Regions from separate parts of the Homo sapiens genome. Here regions 1, 2, 3, 4, 5 and 7 are each linked to region 6. Evidence: promoter capture Hi-C in 16 types of primary human blood cells and fetal thymus (Javierre and others, 2016). All regions are on one chromosome and are shown on one strand. Each heading gives the region's core, a stretch centred on a gene start or on the middle of the fragment in contact. The rest is flanking DNA. Distances are from core to core; before and after follow the strand shown.

Region 1 (2,700 bases), core at 5-2,504, 460 kb after region 6:
GACTACTTTCCGCACTCAGCACTGCCCCCTATGCTTTGTTCATGATAAAAAAAAAATCCATGTACAGAGGCTCCTTGACTTATAATGGGGTTTCATCCTGATAAACCCATTGTAAGTTGAAAATATCCTCAGAAACATACATTTAATATATGGAACTTACTGAACATCAAGCTTAGCCTAGCCTACCTTAAATGGGCTCAGAACACTGACATCAGACTACAGGTGGGCAAAATCATCTAACACAAAGCCTATTTTATAATAAAGCGTTGAAAATCTCAAGTAATGTATTGAATAGTATACCAAAAGTCACAAACAGGATGGTCGTATGGGTACTTGAAGTATAGTTTCTACTGAATGCCTCTTGCCATAGTAAAGCTGAAAAATTGTAAGCAGCACCATCACAAGTTGGGGACCATCCATACCTGCGTATAGAGCATAAGCTGCTTTGAGAGCCTTTTCCTTTGCCTTTGTATCTGATTCCTCTCTTCCAGTTCCTGGGTTGTATAGATGCTCAGTAAGAACATAGTTAGACAAACGCACCAATAAACTTATGGGAGAAGTTCCTACCTGCCATGATGATTAGGTGGGGAGGGGAGGGGTCAGAATTGATGAATTCATTTCTTTTCTCCTCTACCAAAGTCTGCTCCTGAGTTTGCTTTTGGAATGCCTTTTCCTCTCTCCTGCCCTGCCCTCCCTTCCATTTGGCTCCCAGACAGCAGGCCTTGAAAGGGGGCTGTTCTTTAGGGAAAACTTTTCATTAATTCCACATATATTCCCAGAATTGTCAGGTTTTTTCCAAAGTCTCTATTTAGAAATATCATAGGTTTACTCTTTTTTAAAACAATAAATTATCACTCCAAACCAGCCCATAAAAAGAAACAGGGGGAGGGAAGGTGAAAAAATGAAACCCAACCACGTCTTCAATGGGAAAGACGTTCCCATTGAAAATCTTACTGGGACACCCAGTTTTTCTTACTGGAATGGTGAGGCTGACATGATCGAAAACTGTGCCATTTGGAAGAGTTCACTAGTGCATTTGGGAATTTTCCAAGGGAAATTTCAGGGAATCAGAGACTTCTGAGAAATGCGTGATTCATAGTGAAGGGATCCACTGTTTCCTCACTGAAGGCTGATTCTTTAATGTCGTGACATAATCTCCAAATCATACCTTAGTCTGATACCTTTCAAGATCTAGCAAATATCAACAGGCCACTGTCTTGGGTGCTCAGTGATGCATAAAGAGAGGCTCTGACCCTTTAAGGAACATGCATGCCTATTCAAGACTGCTCTCAGCGTGTGTCTCTATTGTACTCTCTCTCTTTCTCTCTCTCTCTCTCTCTTTTTTTTTTTTTAACAGAATCTGAACACAGAGTTGAAATAAACCACAGGGATTATCTGGACCCATCCATCTGTGATGTTATTTCAGATGCTGCCTCTCCTTGAGGTCTTTCCTAACTCAGCAGCCAAACTAATTACTGCTTGCTCTGAGCTCCCATGCACCTTGCATAGAGTCTGTTACAGCTTTTCCCAGAGTGCGTTATAATTATTTGTTTGCATGTCTGTCTCCTGGGCTCCTGGGAACCAACATCATGTCTTACTTAGGCTTACATTCCACGCTAGCTCCTAGCAGAGTTTTTGGCAAATAGTAGTTGCTCAATTGATGTCTGTTAAATGAGTTAAAAAGGACTCACTTTCTGCAGACAGTAAAGCTGGGGTCTCAGAGGATTAAGGTGCTTTGGGTAAGATAAAGATTGTATCACTGCTTACATTCATCTGCTGTTAATTATGAAAGAGAATGAACTAATAGGGCAGCATATTGTCTCCGTTTCCTGTATTTACTATTTCTGACCAGATTTACAGGGGACACATGCTTCTAGCTGGTCCCTGCATGTTGCTTGATTGTTCTATTTAATGTGGTTTACTCTGGCTAATGATGGAAAGCTGCAGTCCCTCCTGTTTGCCCCAGAGAGGACAGAAATGCTTTGCTCAAACCTCAGACTTATTGGGCCTGTTCTTTGTATTACAGGAAGAAGGAGCTGGTTGGGAAGTGTGAGATCATTTCCTGGGTCTTTCTTTTCCCTTTATTTTCTTAGTGTGTCTTGCTTTTTTCTTTTTGTTTGTTTTGTTTTGGACAACTCATGGAGCATGGAGTTCACCTGACTATGGACTTGGTATATTTGAGAACAAAACACGTTTTGACCTCACAGTCCCAAGAGGTCTCTTGCAAAAACTGAGCAAAGGTCCCAATTTGCTGTTGGCTTTACCAGTTAGTATCAGCATGGTGGACAGGTCGGGTAGGGATTTTCAGCTTCGTGTGACCTATGCTCAGGAAGCTTTTTGCCCAAAATCTTCTTTCAGACTCTGTCCACGTGCACTGAAGTACTGTGAAAAGGGAATGAGTATTAAAACTGGTAGAGATGATTTCCAAGGTATTTAATAACCTTTTTAGCACGTAGGGCCAGTCAGAGTCTTCCAACTCTTTAGTTGCTGGGTTGAGGGGTTTTGAGGAGAGGCTGGGGAGCCAGAGAAAGGAAGTGAAGTTGTTGGAGAGAACGGGGGCTTGAGGCAACAGCTGTATACCAACTAATATGAAGCTTGTTCAAAATCTACAGAAGTGGTGTGGCCTTGTGGATGTGTCTAGGCAGAGTGTCTACCCAGAGAGAAGGAAGAACTGGGGCAATTAACATCTCCACCAACTAC
Region 2 (2,700 bases), core at 72-2,571, 420 kb after region 6:
GTCATATGTGTAGATAACCCTGTTTTAAAGAAAATAAAACTATAGACATTTAAGGAACGATAAATATCAACATTTGTTTCAGTTGCCACAAGCGTGAGTTACTTTACTGATTAAAAATTGATAAGAAAAAATTAAGGCTGGGCACAGTGGCTCAACGCCTGTAATCTCGGCACTTTGGGAGGCCCGAGGCGGGTGGATCACCTGAGGTTTGGAGTTCGAGACCAGCCTGACCAACATGGCGAAACCTCACCTCTACTGAAAAAAAAAAATAGCCAGGCATGGTGGTGGGTGCCTGTAATCCCAACTACTTGGGAGGCTGAGGCAGGAGAATCGCTTGAACATGGGAGGCGGAGGTTGCAGTGGGCTATCGCGCCATTGCACTCCAGCCTGGGCAACAGAGCAAGACTCCATCTCAAAAAAAAAAAAAAAAAAAGAAAAAGAAAAATTTAAGTCTGGGCGCAGTGGCTCACTGCTGTAATCCCAGGACTTTGGGAGTCCAGGGTGGGTAGATCATGAGGTCAGGAGATCGAGACCAGCCTGGCCAACATGGTGAAACCCCCTCTCTACTAAAAATACAAAAATTAGCTGGGCGTGGTGGTGCATGCCTGTAATCCCACCTACTGGGGAGGCTTAGGCAGGAGAATCACTTGAACCTGGGAGGTGGAGGTTGCAGTGAGTCAAGATTGTGCCATTGCACTCCCGCCTGGGCGACAGAGTGAGACTCCATCTCAAAAAAAATAAATAAATAAATAAAAGAAAAAGAAAAGAAAAGAAAAATTTTAAAGGAAAAAATGAAAACACCTTGTTCCCTCCATCAAAACAAAGGGATTCATCAACCCAAATTGGGCCCTGGAGTTTCCGGGAAATATGCAGCATTTAGTCATGAGTGAGTGTCCACAGCTGGACACCTGAGCCTGGGGCAGCCAGGGGCTGGAGCCGCTCTTCTGTGGCTTTGGCTTCTCCTCACCTTTGATGAGAAAGTTCTCTTCCCTCCCCATATGTCAGTTCATCAACATTAGAAAGATATTCTAGACTATAGTTATAATATTTACACAGAATCAAATAGAAAAAAATTTGAAAAAAAAATGTCTGGCTTGTATTCCCCTTCAATGATCTCAATTACTTCCTGTTTAGCACCTGCTACTTTATCCTGTATCATATAGCAAATTTCTTCTTGTTTGCAAATGACTCAGCCAATCTCTTCTTGCCTCATCCTGGTGTCCCCCATCTCACTTGTGTTTAGAGTCTCAAAAAGACATAAGGCCTTGGCTTGATTGAAAGAACATATGACACAGAGCTTGATTGCCATGGATTCAATAGGGAATGAATCCCTGTCCCTGCTGAATATTCTCTCCAGCACTATGGAGGTCCCCTGTAGAGGCTGCACCTGTCATTGCTTCAAGAATTCTGGCCTTCTCTTGGCCATGTTCACCACTTTTGAGCACAAGGTTTTGGTGCTTTTTCTCAGGAATACTTTGCATTATCCCTGTTTTCTGCTATCAACCAAGGCCAGAGACAGGGAGCTTCTCAGCGTAGCACAAAGCAGTGGTTGTGGCAGGGAGGGAGGGTCAGGTGCAAAGTGTTTACTGACTCTTCTCTGGTTTCATCTTTCCACTGTAGAAATAGCTTAGGGAGTGGGGGAAGGTGGCAACACAGTAGGTATTGAGTAGGTAGCAGCAGACAATGTGAAATACCAAACAGTGAGAACTTGAGGCACAAAACTGAATCTGGAGAGTGTGGAAGGCCTGGATTGAACCTTGCAATGCAGATGTAGGAATCTTTTTTTTTTTTTTTTTAATACTTTAAGTTTTAGGGTACATGTGCATAACGTGCAGGTTTGTTACATATGCATACATGTGCCATGTTGGTATGCTGCACCCATTAACTTGTCATTTACATTAGGTATATCTCCTAATGCTATCCCTCCCCCCACCCCACCCCACAACAGGCCCCAGTGTGTGATGTTCCTCTTCCTGTGTCCAAGTGTTCTCATTGTTCATTTCCCACCTGTGAGTGAGAACATGTGGTGTTTGGTTTTTTGTCCTTGAGATAGTTTGCTGAGAATGATGGTTTCCAGCTTCATCCATGTCCCTACAAAGGACATAAACTCATCATTTTTTATGGCTGCATAGTATTCCATGGTGTATATGTGTCACATTTTTTTAATCCAGTCTATCATTGTTGGACATTTGGGTTGGTTCCAAGTCTTTCCTATTGTGAATAGTGCCACAATAAACATACATGTGCATGTGTCTTTATAGCAGCATGATTTATAATCCTTTGGGTATATACCCAGTAATGGGATGGCTGGGTCAAATGGTATTTCTAGTTCTAGATCCCTGAGGAATCACCACACTGACTTCCACAATGGTTGAACTAGTTTACAGTCCCACCAACAGTGTAAAAGTGTTCCTATTTCTCCACATCCTCTCCAGCACCTGTTGTTTCCTGACTTTTTAATGATTGCCATTCTAACTGGTGTGAGATGGTATCTCATTGTGGTTTTGATTTGCATTTCTCTGATGGCCAGTGATGATGAGCATTTTTTAATGTGTCTGTTGGCTGCATAAATGTCTTCTTTTGAGAAGTGTCTGTTCATATCCTTCGCCCACTTGTTGATGGGGTTGTTTGTTGTTTCTACCTGACTTTAAACTATACTACAAGGCTACAGTAACCAAAACAGCATAGTACTGGTACCAA
Region 3 (2,700 bases), core at 187-2,686, 350 kb after region 6:
ATCTCCAGACTGCTTCCATTTACATGTCTTTGATTTCTGGCAAGAATTAACATTTCCCCACTATGTTTATCTACTAATTGTATGCCCCTTATGGGAATTGTCCAGTCTTTGACCCATTTATCTTTTGGAATCTTGACATTTATTTTACAAATTTGAATTAGTTATTTATGATGGATCTTAATTCTTTGTAATGTTTGATAGAAATATTTTCCCTCTTAAAAAATCTTCAGTAATGCTAATTTTTATAGTGCAATCATTTCAATTGCTTCAAAGCTGAGAAAGTTAAAATTACCCCAGAGAGCTGATAAACTCTCTTTCCAGTTGTCTGCAAGTTCTATCATAATTTGATTTTATATTTAAATCTTTAATCAACCAAAGCTTATTTTGTTGCACGTTTTATTTTTAATAACTTTTCTATTATAAAATCAATAAATGTTTATTATTGTAAAATAGGAAAATAAAGAAGAACAAAAAGAAAAACATACATAGGTCTGTGATTTCACATTTAGAGATAAGCACTGTTGACATTTTGATGTGGATATCCCCAAGTCATTTTTTCTATGTATACAATTATTTAAAAAAAATAACTGTAAACACACTGTACAAAGTGTTTAAATACCTGTGTATTAACAACACATTAATGGCATATTTCAGGGGCATTAAATATTCTTTTAAAACATTATTTGAAATAGCTACAGAGTACAGTTACACTCTATAGATGTACCATAATTGGCTTAATTCCCTATTGTTTTTTCATTAACTGTATTTAAGATAACACTATTATGAACAATGCTATTATAAACATATGCATAAATCTTGGTCCACATGTATGATTTTCTTTGTATAAATTATTTTTTTAGTAGCTTAAAAAAATTTTAGATTCTGAGGGAACATGTGCAGGTTTGTCACATGGGTATATTGTGTGATGCCGAGGTTTGAGCTTCTAATGGTTCCATTGCCCAAGTAGTGAATATTGTACCCGATAGGTTTTTTTAACCTTTGTCCCCCTCTCCTTCTCACCCCTTTTAGAATGCCACTGTCTATTATTTCCATCTTTATGTCCACTTGTACTCAATGTTTAGCTCCCACTTATAAGTGAGAACGTGCAGTGTTTATCTGCTTTTGTGTTAATTTGCTTAGGATAATGACCTTCAGCTGTAGCCATGTTGCTGCAAAGGATGTGATTTTGTTCTTTTTTATGGCTGCGTAGTATTCCTTAAAAATAATACTACAGATCATATATGTACCACGTTTTCCTTTGTATAAATTTCTTAAAGTAGAATTGCTAAGGCAAAGGTTTTATATCTAGGTATCTATATCTACCTATATATTTTGCCTTTACATATACACTGCTACGTTAAGTAAATTTCTGTCATTTTAAGTACTCATTAGCAGTGAGTGTACTCCTCCTCTGTCCTATCCTCCACCCTTGTTAACATTAGCTATTAACATTTTTGTAATTTTATGCTAAATTGATAAGCCAAAATGGTATGTGCATTTTTAAATTTTTCTTTAAAACCAATGGGTTGAAGTTGAATTTACCACCACTTCCATTTTTATTGCCTTTTTTCTTTCTTTATGAATTATCTGTTCATGATATTTATATATTTTACATACTTTATATGTTTTTATATGTAAAAACTGAGGTGCTCACTTAAGAAATTATAATGATTTCAAACACACGCATGCGTATAATGCATAGTTTTGAATACCACCTACTTCCCAGCTCCATCAAATCCTAATATTTTGCTGTACTTGCTTCCTATTTTTGCTAAAAAATAGAGTGCTGTACCTGTATAACTGTGTATCTCTTCTCAAGCCTGATCTTATTTTTCCTGTCTCAGAGGCAACGCCACCCTGAGTTTGGTGTCTTTCATTCTCATCTCTGTGTGTATATGTTTGCAGCATATGTATGTAGCTACGAAAAATATACAGTAGTTCCTCAGTATCTGTGTGGGATTGGTTCCAGGACCACCCACTGATGCTCAAGTCCCTGATACAAAATGGTGTAGTGTTTGCATATAACCTATGCACATTCTGTCATATGCTGTAAATCACCTCTAGATTACTTATAATACTTAATACAATGCCTATACATCCCTTCATTTGCCTGGTTTTAACATGGTACTCAGGATGTGGCAAATTCAAGTTTTGCCTTTTGGAATTTTGTATAATTTTCCCCCCAAATATTTTGCATCCTCGGTTGATTGAATCTATGGATGTGGAATCCCATGGATATAGAGGGATGATTGTACCATTATTTTGTATGTTTTCAAACTTTTATACTCTACACATCTATCTGCAACTTGTTTTGTCACTCAGCAGTGTATTTTCGAGATTTATCTCTGTTGATAAAACACCTACAAATGGTCCCATTTTAAGAAAGTATCAGAATTTGTTCATTGGGTTGATGGATACTTGTGTTATTTAGTTTTTTCATTTTCCTATTACAATATTGCAGTAGACATTGCATCATCCACAAGTGAAAGCTTCTAGAGTTTATTCCTAGAAGTGAAATTGCTGGATTGTAAGATATATGTCCCATCAGAGTTAGTAAGATGTTGACAATTTATTCTTCAAATAAATTACTTCCGTGAAAGTATCGTTGGCAAAATGTGAGTGTTCCTTCAGTTTTTCCACCTCATCACCAACACTTGAGGAGTGTCAGATTATTTAATTTTCACCAGTTTGATGGATGTA
Region 4 (2,700 bases), core at 19-2,518, 440 kb after region 6:
TGTAAAACTACTTGGATAAAACATAGGAGGAAACCTTATTGACATTGTTTTGGGCAAAGATTTTATGAGTAAGACTTAGAAAGTATAGGAAACAAAAGCAAAAATAAGCCTGGGCAGCATAGTGAGACTCTGTCTCTACAGAAAATAAAAAAATTAGCTGGGCCTAGAGGTATGTGCCAACATTCTCAGCTACTTGGGAGGCTGAGGTGGGAGGATCACTTGAACCCAGGAAGTTGAGGCTGCAGTGTGCTATGATCATACCACTGTGCTCTGGCCTGGGTGACAGAGTGAGACCTTGTCTTGAAAAAAAAGTAAAAATAGACAAAGGGGATTATATTAAACCCAAAGGTTTCTGCAAACCACCACCACCACCAGCAACAATAACAAAATCAATAAAGAAAGAACTTCAGAGCTTGAAGACCAGTCTTTTGAATTAACCCAATCTAAAAAAAAAAAAAAAGAAAAAAAGAATTTAAAAAAGTCTTTGAGAAATATGGGATTATGTAAAGCAACCAAACCTGTAAATTATTGGCATTCCTGAGAGAGAAGGAGAAAAATCAAACAATTTGGAAAATGTATTTGAGGTACTAATTCAAGAAAACTTCCCTAATCTTGCTAGTGAGGTAGACATACAGATATAAGAAATCCAGAAAGCATCCATGAGATACTACACAAAATGAATATCACCAAGGCATATAGTCACAGGAATCTCCAAGGTCAATGCTAAAGACAGAAACCTTGAAAGCAGCTAGAGAAAAAGGTCATATGTCCTAAGGGAATTCCATTAGGCTAACATTGGACTTCTCAGCAGAAACCTTATAAACTAGGAGAGACTGGGGTACTATTTTTAGCATTCTTAAAGAAAAGAAATTTCCACCAGAGATTTCATATCCCACCAAAGTAAGCTTAATAAACGAAGAAATAAAATCTTTACCAGACAAACCAGGATTGAGGGAATTCATTACCACTAGACCAGTATTAGAAGAGATCCTTAAGGAAGTTCTAAACACAGAAACAAAAGAACAATACCTGCTACCACAAAAATACACTTAAGTACATATCCTGCAGACCCTATAAAAGCAAAAACAATAGAAACTACAAAACAAACAGCTAACAACATCATAATAGGACCAAAACCTCACATATTAATGTTAACCTTGAATGTAAATGGTCTAAATTCTTCACTTAAAAGGCACAGAGTAGCAAGTTGGATAAAAAAGCAAGACCCATCCATCTGCTATTTTCAAGAGACCCCTGTCACACGTAATGACACCCATAAGCCAGAAGTAAAGGGTTGAAGAAAGTTCTACCACAGGAATGGAAAACAAAAAAACCAAGGGTCACTATTCCTATATCAGATACAATCAACTTTAAGCCAACAACAGTAAAAAAGGACAAAGAAAGGCATTACATAATAATAAAGGTTCATTTAATTAGAAGACTTAACTATCCTAAATATATATATGCACACAACATTGGAGCGCCTAGATTCATGAAGCAAGCACTTCTAGACCTATGAAAAGACTTAGACAGATACACAATAATAATGGGGGACTTCAACACCCTATTGACAGCATTAGACAGACCACTGAGGCAGAAAACTGACAAAAAAACTCTGGACCTAAGCTTGACATCAGACCAATTGGACCTAATAGACATCTACAGAATACTCCACTTATTCAACACATAATATACATTCTTTTAATCTGTCCAAGGACTATACTCCATGATTGACCACATACTCAGCCATAAAGCAAGTCTCAATACATTTAAAAAGCCAAAATCTTACCAGTCATACTCTTGGACCAGAGTGGAATAAAAATAGAAATAAACATCAAGAAGATCTCCCAAAATCACAAGACTACATGGAAATTAAACAACTTGCTCCTGAATGACTTTTGGTGTAAACAATGAAATCAAGGCAGAAATAAAAAATTATCTGAAATAAATGAAAACAGGACACAAGACACCAAAATAACTGGAATGCAGCAAAAGTAATGTTAAGAGGAAAGTTTATAGTGCCAACTGCCTACCTCAAAAAGTTAGATCTCAAATTAACAATCTAACATCGCACCTAGAGCAACTAGAAAAACAAGAACAAACCAACCCCAAAGCTAGTAGAAGAAAAGAAATAACTAAAATCAGAATAGAACCGAATGAAATTGAGACTCCAAAATCCAAACAAAGTGTCAATGAAACCAAAAGTTAGTTTTTTGAAAGGATAAACAGGATTAATAGAACGCTAGCTAGATTAACAAAGAAGAGATATCCAAATAAGCACAATCAGACAGAACAAAAGTGACATTATAACTAATCCCACAGAAATACAAAAGATTCTCAGAGACTAATATGAACACCTGTATGCCACAAATCTAGAAGAAATGGATAAATTCATGGAAATACACAATGTTCCAAGATTGAATCAGAAATAAATTGAAACCCTGAACAGATCAATATCAAGTTCCAAAACTGAATGAGTAATAAAAAACCTACAAGCTAAAATAAGCCTGGATCAGAGAGAGTCATAGCCAAATTCCACCAGAGCTACAAAAAAGAGCTGGTAGCAATTCTACTGAAACCATTTCAAAAAAATTGAGGGGAAGGAATTCTCTCTAACTCATTCTACAAAGCCAGCATCACCCTGATACCAAGACTGAGCAAAGACACAACAACAAAAAAGAAAACAATAGCCCAATACCC
Region 5 (2,700 bases), core at 23-2,522, 500 kb after region 6:
CCCCTCATCCAGCCTAACCAGAGCAGAGGGGCTGCACTCATTTGATTCAATAATTTCTACTTTCCTATGGTTTCTGTTACCTCTTTAAATTTTAAAATACTTTTACTTCTGAGACATTTCGACATAAGTGAAATAATACAATAAAATCAATGCATGGCCGGGCGCGGTGGCTCATGCCTGTAATCCCAGCACTTTGAGAGGCCGAGGCGGCGGATCACCTGAGGTCAGGAGTTCGAGACCAGCCTGACCAACATGGTGAAACCCCGTCTTTACTAAAAACACAAAAGTAGCTGGGCATGGTGGCACATGCCTGTAATTCCAGCTACTTGGGAGGCTGAGGTAGGAGAATCGCTTGAATCCGGGAGGCGGAGGTTGCAGTGAGCTGCGATCGTGCCACTGCACGCCAGCCTGGGCAACAAGAGCAAAACTCCATTAAAAAAAAAAAAAAAGAGATATATACACATATATAGATATATATGTATATATATAGAGAGATATGTATATCTCTCTCTATATGTATAGATATGTATATCTCTCTCTATATGTATAGAGAGATATGTATATCTATATACATATATAGATAGAGAGATATATACGTATATATATCTCTCTCTACACACACACACACACACACACACACATACACACACACACACACACACCCACACACACACACTACATGGAACTGAATTCAGGACCTGTAATAGAACAATGAAAAATAGTGGTTTAAAAAAGTTAATTTTTTTGGCCATAACAAGAAGTTTGGAGGTAGGCAGTGCACAGCCAATGCGGTATCTCAGAGCTATCTCTGGGACCAGGCTGCTGCTTCTCACCGCATGTCCAGTGCTAGCATCACCCTAGGCAGCTTCCATCCCCATGATCTAAATAAGGCTGTGCTACTGTCGGACAGGAAGGGGGCCTTCTCCATACAATAAAAACATTGTAGTTGTTGTTTTAGCACATCAGGAAGCACATCCAAGGGACTTTGCCTACATCTCTTTGGCCAGAACTATGTGATATGGCCCCTCCAGACTCCAAGGAACTTTGGAAAAGTGACTTCACCAATCTCATCAAAATTGGGGTTTTGTTAACAAAAAAAGAGAGAGTGGATATTGGGCAAACAAATCACGAATGTCTGCTGTCGCCTACTACTAGAGTTTAATAGATGTTAACTTTTTGCAAATTTGCTTCAGAACCTTTTCTTGTTTTTTTTCAAATAGGGTCTCACTATGTTGCCCAGGCTAGTCTCAAACTCCCGGGCTCAAGTGATACTCCCTCCTTAGCCTTCTGAGTAGCTGGGATTAAATTATAGGCATGTACTACAATGCCCAGCACAGACACTTGTTTTCTTTTAAAGACAAGAAACATTACAAAGAAAGCTAAAGATGTGTCTTCATCTCTTTTTCCTCTCTTCCACCTCAGAGGTAACCATTAACCGGAAGCTGGTGTGCGTGACTCCCAGATATATTTTTATACTTTGAGTACATATAAAAATTTGATTTCTGATAATGTCAGGCTAGGTAAATGAAGCCCACCCTCATGATAAATATGCCTAAATCCTACCTAAACTACACATGCATAAATATACTTTTTTCTAAACTATATTTAAAATCTTATCAAAGTGTTATAGAACCTACAAGGTCATAAAGAGCTAGCAGGCCAGAATTTAAGGAACGGTAGAAACTAGAGAGGCTAGCTGAACACCAGCTGCACTTGGCACTGAGGCAACCCGGACTGCAGTGTCCTGGGGTTGGGTTGGGGCAGATTTACTTATGGTTTACCTTACCCTGGGGGCGTGGTCTTTCAGTACCAGCTTCATGTGTAAGAGGGCCTCCTATTAGATTCCTAGTCTCTGGTTGGGCCCTGGGCCATTCTTTCTTTTTTTCCCTTATGAAAACTGAAGTCAAGTTTGCCTATATCAACAAAAGCCGTCAGGGCAAAAGCAGTTTCAATGCTCTGATGTCCTACTTGCATAGATGGGCTATCCATAAAGGCAAGGACAGTTAACACTAGAGAAGCTATTAACATTCAGAATTTCTCAGACTGTTTCTCCTTAACCTTATGATTTTCTTCCTTATACATTTAAATTTTTTTTTCTCTAGTATCTTACCTCATTTTTTTTGAAATCAATATAGTTATTTAAAGTCATGGATTTGTTTTCTATAAGTACTACTTTATTTACATTCCCACAGTTTTAATATATGGTGTTTTATTATGATTTATTTACAAAACATTTCTAGTTTGTTGACCCCAAAATTTTGTATAAATATATGTATTTTTGTAAACATATTTATTGAAATATATGATACATTCAGAATAGTACATAATCATAAAAGAGTAGCTGCATAGGCCGAGGTGGCTGGATCACAAGGTCAAGAGATAGAGACCATCCTGGCCAACATGGTGAAACCCTGTCTGTACTAAAAATACAAAAATTAGCTGGGCGTGGTGGCGTGTGCCTGTAGTCCCAGCTACTCAGGAGGCTGAGGCAGGAGAATCGCTTGAACCCAGGAGGCAGAGGTTGCCGTGAGCCGAGATGAGATCGTACCACTGCACTCCAGTCTGGCAATAGAGCGAGACTCTATCTAAAAAAAAAAAAAAAAAAAAAAGAACAGCTGTATAAATATTCACAAAATGAACGTATCCATGTAGACACCATCCAAATCAGGAAATAAACAAAAATCTGACAATCTTTGTCTT
Region 6 (2,700 bases), core at 170-2,669:
TATTCCTTCAACATGGAAGTCTTGGAATGAATTTCATGTAAGAAGGGGACTGATGAATGAGGAAAGAAAGGAAGCCATCACCTGACATGCAGCAGCTCCCTCACCCCGTTTTCCTCCACCCCAAAAGCTGTAGGAAGTAGAAAGCTGCAGAATGTACCTTCCAGGCCAGGAGCAAAACATTGAGGATGGCCAGCAAGGGGCAGGGTCCGTTCTCATTCTGGGTGATGATGGGTGTGTTCTCTTCCTTCCACTGGATCCACTTGATGTGATACACAGATTGTCCCGGGAAGCGTTCCTTGGAGGCCGCCAGCACCTGAGCGGTCTCCTCCCCCTCCTCCTCCTTGCACAGAGGAACAGCCCCGGGCAACACCGCCGCGCCCTCCTCCTCCTCAGGGACCCTGTTCTCCGCTCCCTCCTCACTATTGAACTCGCAGCTACTGGGAAAAGAATGCAGGTTAGAGAACGACTCCAGAGAGTCCAGGCTCGGAGATTCCCCAGGAGGGCTCGGGTCGCTGCAACTGCTGCTGAGGCCGCCGGCGCTGCTGGGCTCTTCGGAGCCGGCGGCGGTCAGTTCTGCTTGGCAGGTGCCGGCGAGATCCGGGCGGGCTCCCGCGTCTCCGGCGGTACCCAACTCATGACCCACTCCGGCCACGGCTGTCTCCGGGGAGGCGGTCACCTTGTACTGCCCTCTCAGAGGCGCCTCGGCGGCAGCAGGACTCTCCAAACCACTGTCCTTCAAGTCCAAACCCGCGGAGGAGCTGCAGGGTCCGGGAACCTCAGGAGAGCCCGCGGGAGAAGCCGAGTCCGGGAGGCTCCTCCTGGCGGCCGCCGCCCCCAGCCCATTCCCGCCGCTGGTCTCCGCCGCCCATACCCCAGGACCATCACCAGCGGCGAGCCTGGTCTCCTGTAGCCCTTCCTGCGAAGAACCTGTCCCTGACGCTGGCCCGGCCGCCACCCCGTGTTCTAGCGGCTGCAGGCTCTCGGGGCTGCTCTCCATACCGGGCCGCCCGCCCCCAGCTCTATGGAGACCGCGGCCACTTCTCCGCAGCCAGCGCCTTGGACGCCATGACAGCTGTATTGGCAGCAACAGCGCCCTGGCGCGGCCTCGGTCAGGCACGTCACCGGGGAGAGTACTAAGAACGCGCGCGGGCGCGCGCTACCGCTCTGTCCGTGCGCTCTGAGCTTGCCTCCGCCTGACTGCGCGCTGAGAGGCGAAGGCGAACCACTCAGCAGCCGCCCACGTGGCCCAGCCCTTTCCGTGCGTCCGACCGAGCTCGCTCTCGGAAGGCCGGGCGTGGAGGGCGTGGCTAGGAGGGCGCGGCCGGGGGGCGCGCCCCCGCGGCTCAGCTCCAGTAGGAAAACATCCTCTCACTATGTGGCCGGAAGTTGAACTCCCGGGCAGCTCCCTTGTGTGCGGCTTCTTTAAAGGGAAGGCAGGAGGCGGACAGCTTGGCTGTGACCCTTTAGCGCTGGGTCGCGTGTGGCCCACCCTCGGCCTGAGGCATTGTTGGGTGGTTGGAGGTGGTTGTAGTATTTGGAAAAGAACTTGTCCCTGAAGGGCTCAGGGGACTTGGTTTCTCAGCTCCTAATATGGAAAATTAAGGCATTTCTTACGAGATGCAGATTTTAAAGCAGGCATATCTACTCGACGGCTTTGGATTACTGCACTGCACAAATTCCAGTCTCTGTCGGTTTTGGCTGAGAAGAGCTGTGCTTCTCACCAGCTACTGGTGAGACATTCGCCCTACAGGAAAGGGTCGGTATGATTGTGGACATTGACATGCGTAGCAAAAGAAAGTGGCTAATTTGCGCCAATAATAATAAATTAGCTTGTATTTGAATTAGCCAAGTCTTTGCGGTTTTGCTAACTTGGCTTCACTTTGCATGGAGTGGGAAGCGCCTGCTTCTGAAAAGGTGACTTTTTTCCTAATTAGAATGGACTCCTCTTAAGGCCATGCAGTTTTCAAAGAAGAAAGACAAGCTGGACGTTTTGTTAGTAACAAAATGTATGTGGGTCCTATTCTAACTTGTTACAGAAAAGGGCTTTTTCCCCCATCTTTTTTCTTTCAACATTTTCTAGGCTGTTGGGGATAAAAAATTAACGAGACAGGTCTTCCTTCGCAGACATATAAATACCTGATACATAATTAGAATGTGATATTTTTGCACCTCTGTTGGTTAGAGAAGGCAGACAAGATTGCAAAGTAGTATTTCATTCATTCCTTTAATACATTTTAGTACCAAGTAAGTTGCTGGATGCTGTCTGTCACTGGAGATGCCATAGTGGATCACGGAGCTTATATCTTCATGGAGCTTACTGTCTTTTTTTTTCTTATTGCTATTTTTTAATACATACTTATATGTTTTTTTGTTTTTGTTTTTGCTTTTGTTTTTTTTTTTTTTTGAAACGGAGTCTCTCTCTGTCGCCCAGGCTGGAGTGCAGTGGCACGATCTTGGCTCACTGCAACCTCCGCCTCCCGGGTTCAAGCGATTCTCCTGCCTCAGCCTCCCGAGTAGCTGGGACTATAGGCGCCCGCCACCATGCCTGGCTAATTTGTTGTTGTTGTTGTTTTTGAGACGGAGTCTTGCTCTGTCGCCCAGGCTGGCGTGCAGTGGCGCGATCTCGGCTCACTGCAAGCTCCGCCTCCCGGGTTCACGCCATTCTCCTGCCTCAGCCTCCTGAGTAGCTGGGACTACAGG
Region 7 (2,700 bases), core at 141-2,640, 480 kb after region 6:
TTGGCGCCAAACAGACCTGCCTCAGTTTCAGTCCTGCTTCTGCCACTGCAGGTCTCTCTTCCTCTCCTTCTTCACTGAGTAAGGCTGACAACCTAACTGACAGGGCTCCTCAAAGGATTAACTGAGATAAAGCATGTGGAACAAGTCTGGCATGAAGTAGATGCCTAAGATTTCACCGTTGACGCTCATAGTCACAGCAGCTTCTAGACTTGCTTTGTATATTCTCTGACCTCAGAAGGCATGCTGTGGAATGCAGACTAGGGAAAATGCATCTAAATGTATTACAATGTGAGATGGTCAGTTTTATGTGTCAGCTTGGCTGGGCTACAGTCCCCTGCTATTCAGTTAAACACTAATCTAGATGTTTCTGTGAAGGTATTTGGTAGATGTGATTAAAGTCCCTAATCAGTTGACTTTAAATAAGAAAGGTTATATTAGATAATTTGAGGGAGGGGTCATAATCAGATGAAAAGCCTTAAGAGCAGAACTGAGTCTTTTCTAAAGGAGAAATTCTACCTGGGGATAGCAGCTTCAGCTCCTGCCTAAGACTTTCCAGCCTACACTTCCTGACTTTGGTGACTTTGGGTCCTGTGGACTTCAGGTTTGTCTATTATAAGGAGTTGAACTGCATACCCCCAAAAGATGTTGAAGCCCTCACTCCCAGTACCTGTGAATGTGATTTTATTTGGAAATAGGAGTTTCCCAGATGATCAAGATGAGGTGATGAGGGTGGGCCCTGATCCAATAAGGCTATAACCTTTTTTATAAAAAGGGGAAAATTTGGACACAAACCTGCATAGAAGGAAAGTGATATGAAGACACAGGAATAAGATGGCCACCTGTAAGCCAAGAAACTGTGTGTGTGTGTCTGCATGTGTGTGTATATCTCCATATCCTACTGGTTCTGTGGCTGTGTTTCTCTGGCAGAATCCTGACTGGTGCACAGTGTATGATATAACAGCACTGAAGGGGGTTTGGGGGAAAAGAGGAGCTGACCTAAGTGACTGGAAAAAGTGATTTTAGCAAGAAACTGTGAGGCTAGAGGCTAAAGGCTAAAGGAAGTAGACAGAAACATTGTACTTTTCTTGGTAAGTTTCTTACAGTTTAATGATTCTGAAACTCTTTATCTGTAGGTAGGGTTGAAAAATAAGTAAATGGATGGTAGATGATGGGAACCAGTTTTCTCACTATCATAGAGGGAAGTTACATATAAGCAGCCCAGAAAGGCTAAAATGAACCCTGTGCTCCTGGATTAAAGACTGTTAATATGCACTCATGTTTAGCTTAATATATATAGACATCGAAACAGTTATAGAGATGTGTGTATACATGGGTTCGCATACATACGTATATTTCCTTGCTCTGTTCATGGAGAGGGCCCAAAAGCAATGAAACTGCAGTAGCATTGAGCAGACGTGGCATCCAGATCTTGGTTTCCAGTGCTGTCCTCCAACAAAAGGAACCAGGGCTACACGGAGAAATGGCTCAATCTAAGACTGTAAACAGGAGATATACAAAATGAGCCTGGAGTGTCTTGTGGTACCAGAAAATGAGAAAATATTAAAAGGAAACAAGAAAATCCCAACCACATTGATGGCAGTGTATCAAAGGGACACAGGAGCCAACCTGAAAGCACCCAATGGCCAAAGTTGGATAATTTGAGCAACAATAAATAACATAGTATTGGACTGTAACACCATGTAAAAATAAATATATATGGGTCGTTATTGCTATAAATAACTGATTTAATAAAATGGTGGAGTAGAGACACATTTTCTTTACAGAACAATTCTGGTAATATATGTAGATACCCCTCACTCCAGAAAGTGAAGTGAATTCCCTCCCCCCTTTTCCAGAATGGATAGACTTAGAAATTTGTTTCCAAAGATTATAGATGTGAAAAATAGTAACATAGTGGAGAGACCCGGCAAACATCACCTTAATCAAGTGATGAAGGATACCATCACCGGTCACATCATGTTGATCTCATGGACCTGTGATATGAGGTGGTGAGAAGGGCACTTCAAGTCCGTGATCTTCCTTCCAAAATCTCATAACCCCAGTCCAATCATGAGCAAAACATCACACAAACTCATATTGAGGAACATTCCTACAAAATATCTGACTAGTCATTCTCACAAATGTTAAGGTCTTGAAAAACAAGGCAAACCTGAGAAACTGTCACAGACCAGAAGAAAATGAGGCAAGAACACAATTAAGTTTACTGTGATACCCTGGGACTCAGGAACAGGAAGAGGGCGTTAGTAGAAAAGCTGGTGAAACTCAAAGTCAGGCGTTTTGGTTAATGTTGGTTTCTTCATTTTGCCAAATGTACCACGGTTATGTAAGATATTAACAAATGGGGGAGCTGTGTGATGGGCATATGGGAACTCTCTGTATCATCTTTGCAGCTTTTCTATAAATAAAAAATTATTCCAAAACAAAATGTTTATTTAAAAGAAAAAGGCATTCTGGATCCAACACTTACCAGCTGTGTAACCTCAGATGAGTTATTTAATCTTTCAGTGCCTCAATCTTGTGTTTTGTAAAATGAGGGGTTAATAGTAAAACTTCCCATAGGGTTGTTGTAAGGATTAAATGAGTTAACATATGAATTGCTTAGAATAGTGCTTGGCAAAAGGTAAGTTGTTAATAAGTGTTGGCTCTGATTGTAATAGTTTCTTCTTTTAAACACAACTT

What was found. Contacts are between HindIII fragments. The CHiCAGO score rates a contact against its expected background, and 5 or more counts as called.
Region 1: a fragment that was not itself captured here is called in contact with the fragment with the promoter of MINDY2-DT in region 6 in 6 of 17 cell types (endothelial precursors, total CD4 T cells, fetal thymus and 3 more); the score reaches 8.0 in endothelial precursors.
Region 2: a fragment that was not itself captured here is called in contact with the fragment with the promoter of MINDY2-DT in region 6 in 1 of 17 cell types (fetal thymus); the score reaches 5.0 in fetal thymus.
Region 3: a fragment that was not itself captured here is called in contact with the fragment with the promoter of MINDY2-DT in region 6 in 2 of 17 cell types (erythroblasts and total CD4 T cells); the score reaches 5.7 in erythroblasts.
Region 4: a fragment that was not itself captured here is called in contact with the fragment with the promoter of MINDY2-DT in region 6 in 8 of 17 cell types (M1 macrophages, M2 macrophages, naive CD4 T cells and 5 more); the score reaches 8.2 in M1 macrophages.
Region 5: a fragment that was not itself captured here is called in contact with the fragment with the promoter of MINDY2-DT in region 6 in 10 of 17 cell types (total CD4 T cells, naive CD4 T cells, M2 macrophages and 7 more); the score reaches 10.4 in total CD4 T cells.
Region 7: a fragment that was not itself captured here is called in contact with the fragment with the promoter of MINDY2-DT in region 6 in 5 of 17 cell types (total CD4 T cells, fetal thymus, M2 macrophages and 2 more); the score reaches 9.3 in total CD4 T cells.

The regions. Positions count from the first base shown.
Region 1 is chr15:58,306,255-58,308,954 of GRCh38, reverse strand. No RefSeq gene overlaps it. Among named protein-coding and RNA genes, the nearest start is that of LIPC, 120 kb to the left of the region's middle. The HindIII fragment of the contact is 2,162 bases long and covers 174-2,335 here.
Region 2 is chr15:58,347,179-58,349,878 of GRCh38, reverse strand. No RefSeq gene overlaps it. Among named protein-coding and RNA genes, the nearest start is that of LIPC, 83 kb to the left of the region's middle. The HindIII fragment of the contact is 6,422 bases long and covers 1-2,700 here.
Region 3 is chr15:58,415,639-58,418,338 of GRCh38, reverse strand. No RefSeq gene overlaps it. Among named protein-coding and RNA genes, the nearest start is that of LIPC, 15 kb to the left of the region's middle. The HindIII fragment of the contact is 2,111 bases long and covers 381-2,491 here.
Region 4 is chr15:58,325,215-58,327,914 of GRCh38, reverse strand. No RefSeq gene overlaps it. Among named protein-coding and RNA genes, the nearest start is that of LIPC, 110 kb to the left of the region's middle. The HindIII fragment of the contact is 721 bases long and covers 908-1,628 here.
Region 5 is chr15:58,274,154-58,276,853 of GRCh38, reverse strand. No RefSeq gene overlaps it. Among named protein-coding and RNA genes, the nearest start is that of AQP9, 140 kb to the right of the region's middle. The HindIII fragment of the contact is 5,115 bases long and covers 1-2,700 here.
Region 6 is chr15:58,769,693-58,772,392 of GRCh38, reverse strand. It overlaps MINDY2-DT (MINDY2 divergent transcript), which reads left to right and starts at 1,419. Exons shown (of 2, transcript NR_135474.1): 1 at 1,419-2,006. It overlaps MINDY2 (MINDY lysine 48 deubiquitinase 2), which reads right to left and starts at 1,091. Exons shown (of 9, transcript NM_001040450.3): 1 at 158-1,091. The coding sequence starts at 997. RefSeq lists a silencer at 1,137-1,416 and an enhancer at 1,229-2,154. The HindIII fragment of the contact is 12,290 bases long and covers 1-2,700 here.
Region 7 is chr15:58,290,313-58,293,012 of GRCh38, reverse strand. No RefSeq gene overlaps it. Among named protein-coding and RNA genes, the nearest start is that of LIPC, 140 kb to the left of the region's middle. The HindIII fragment of the contact is 4,949 bases long and covers 1-2,700 here.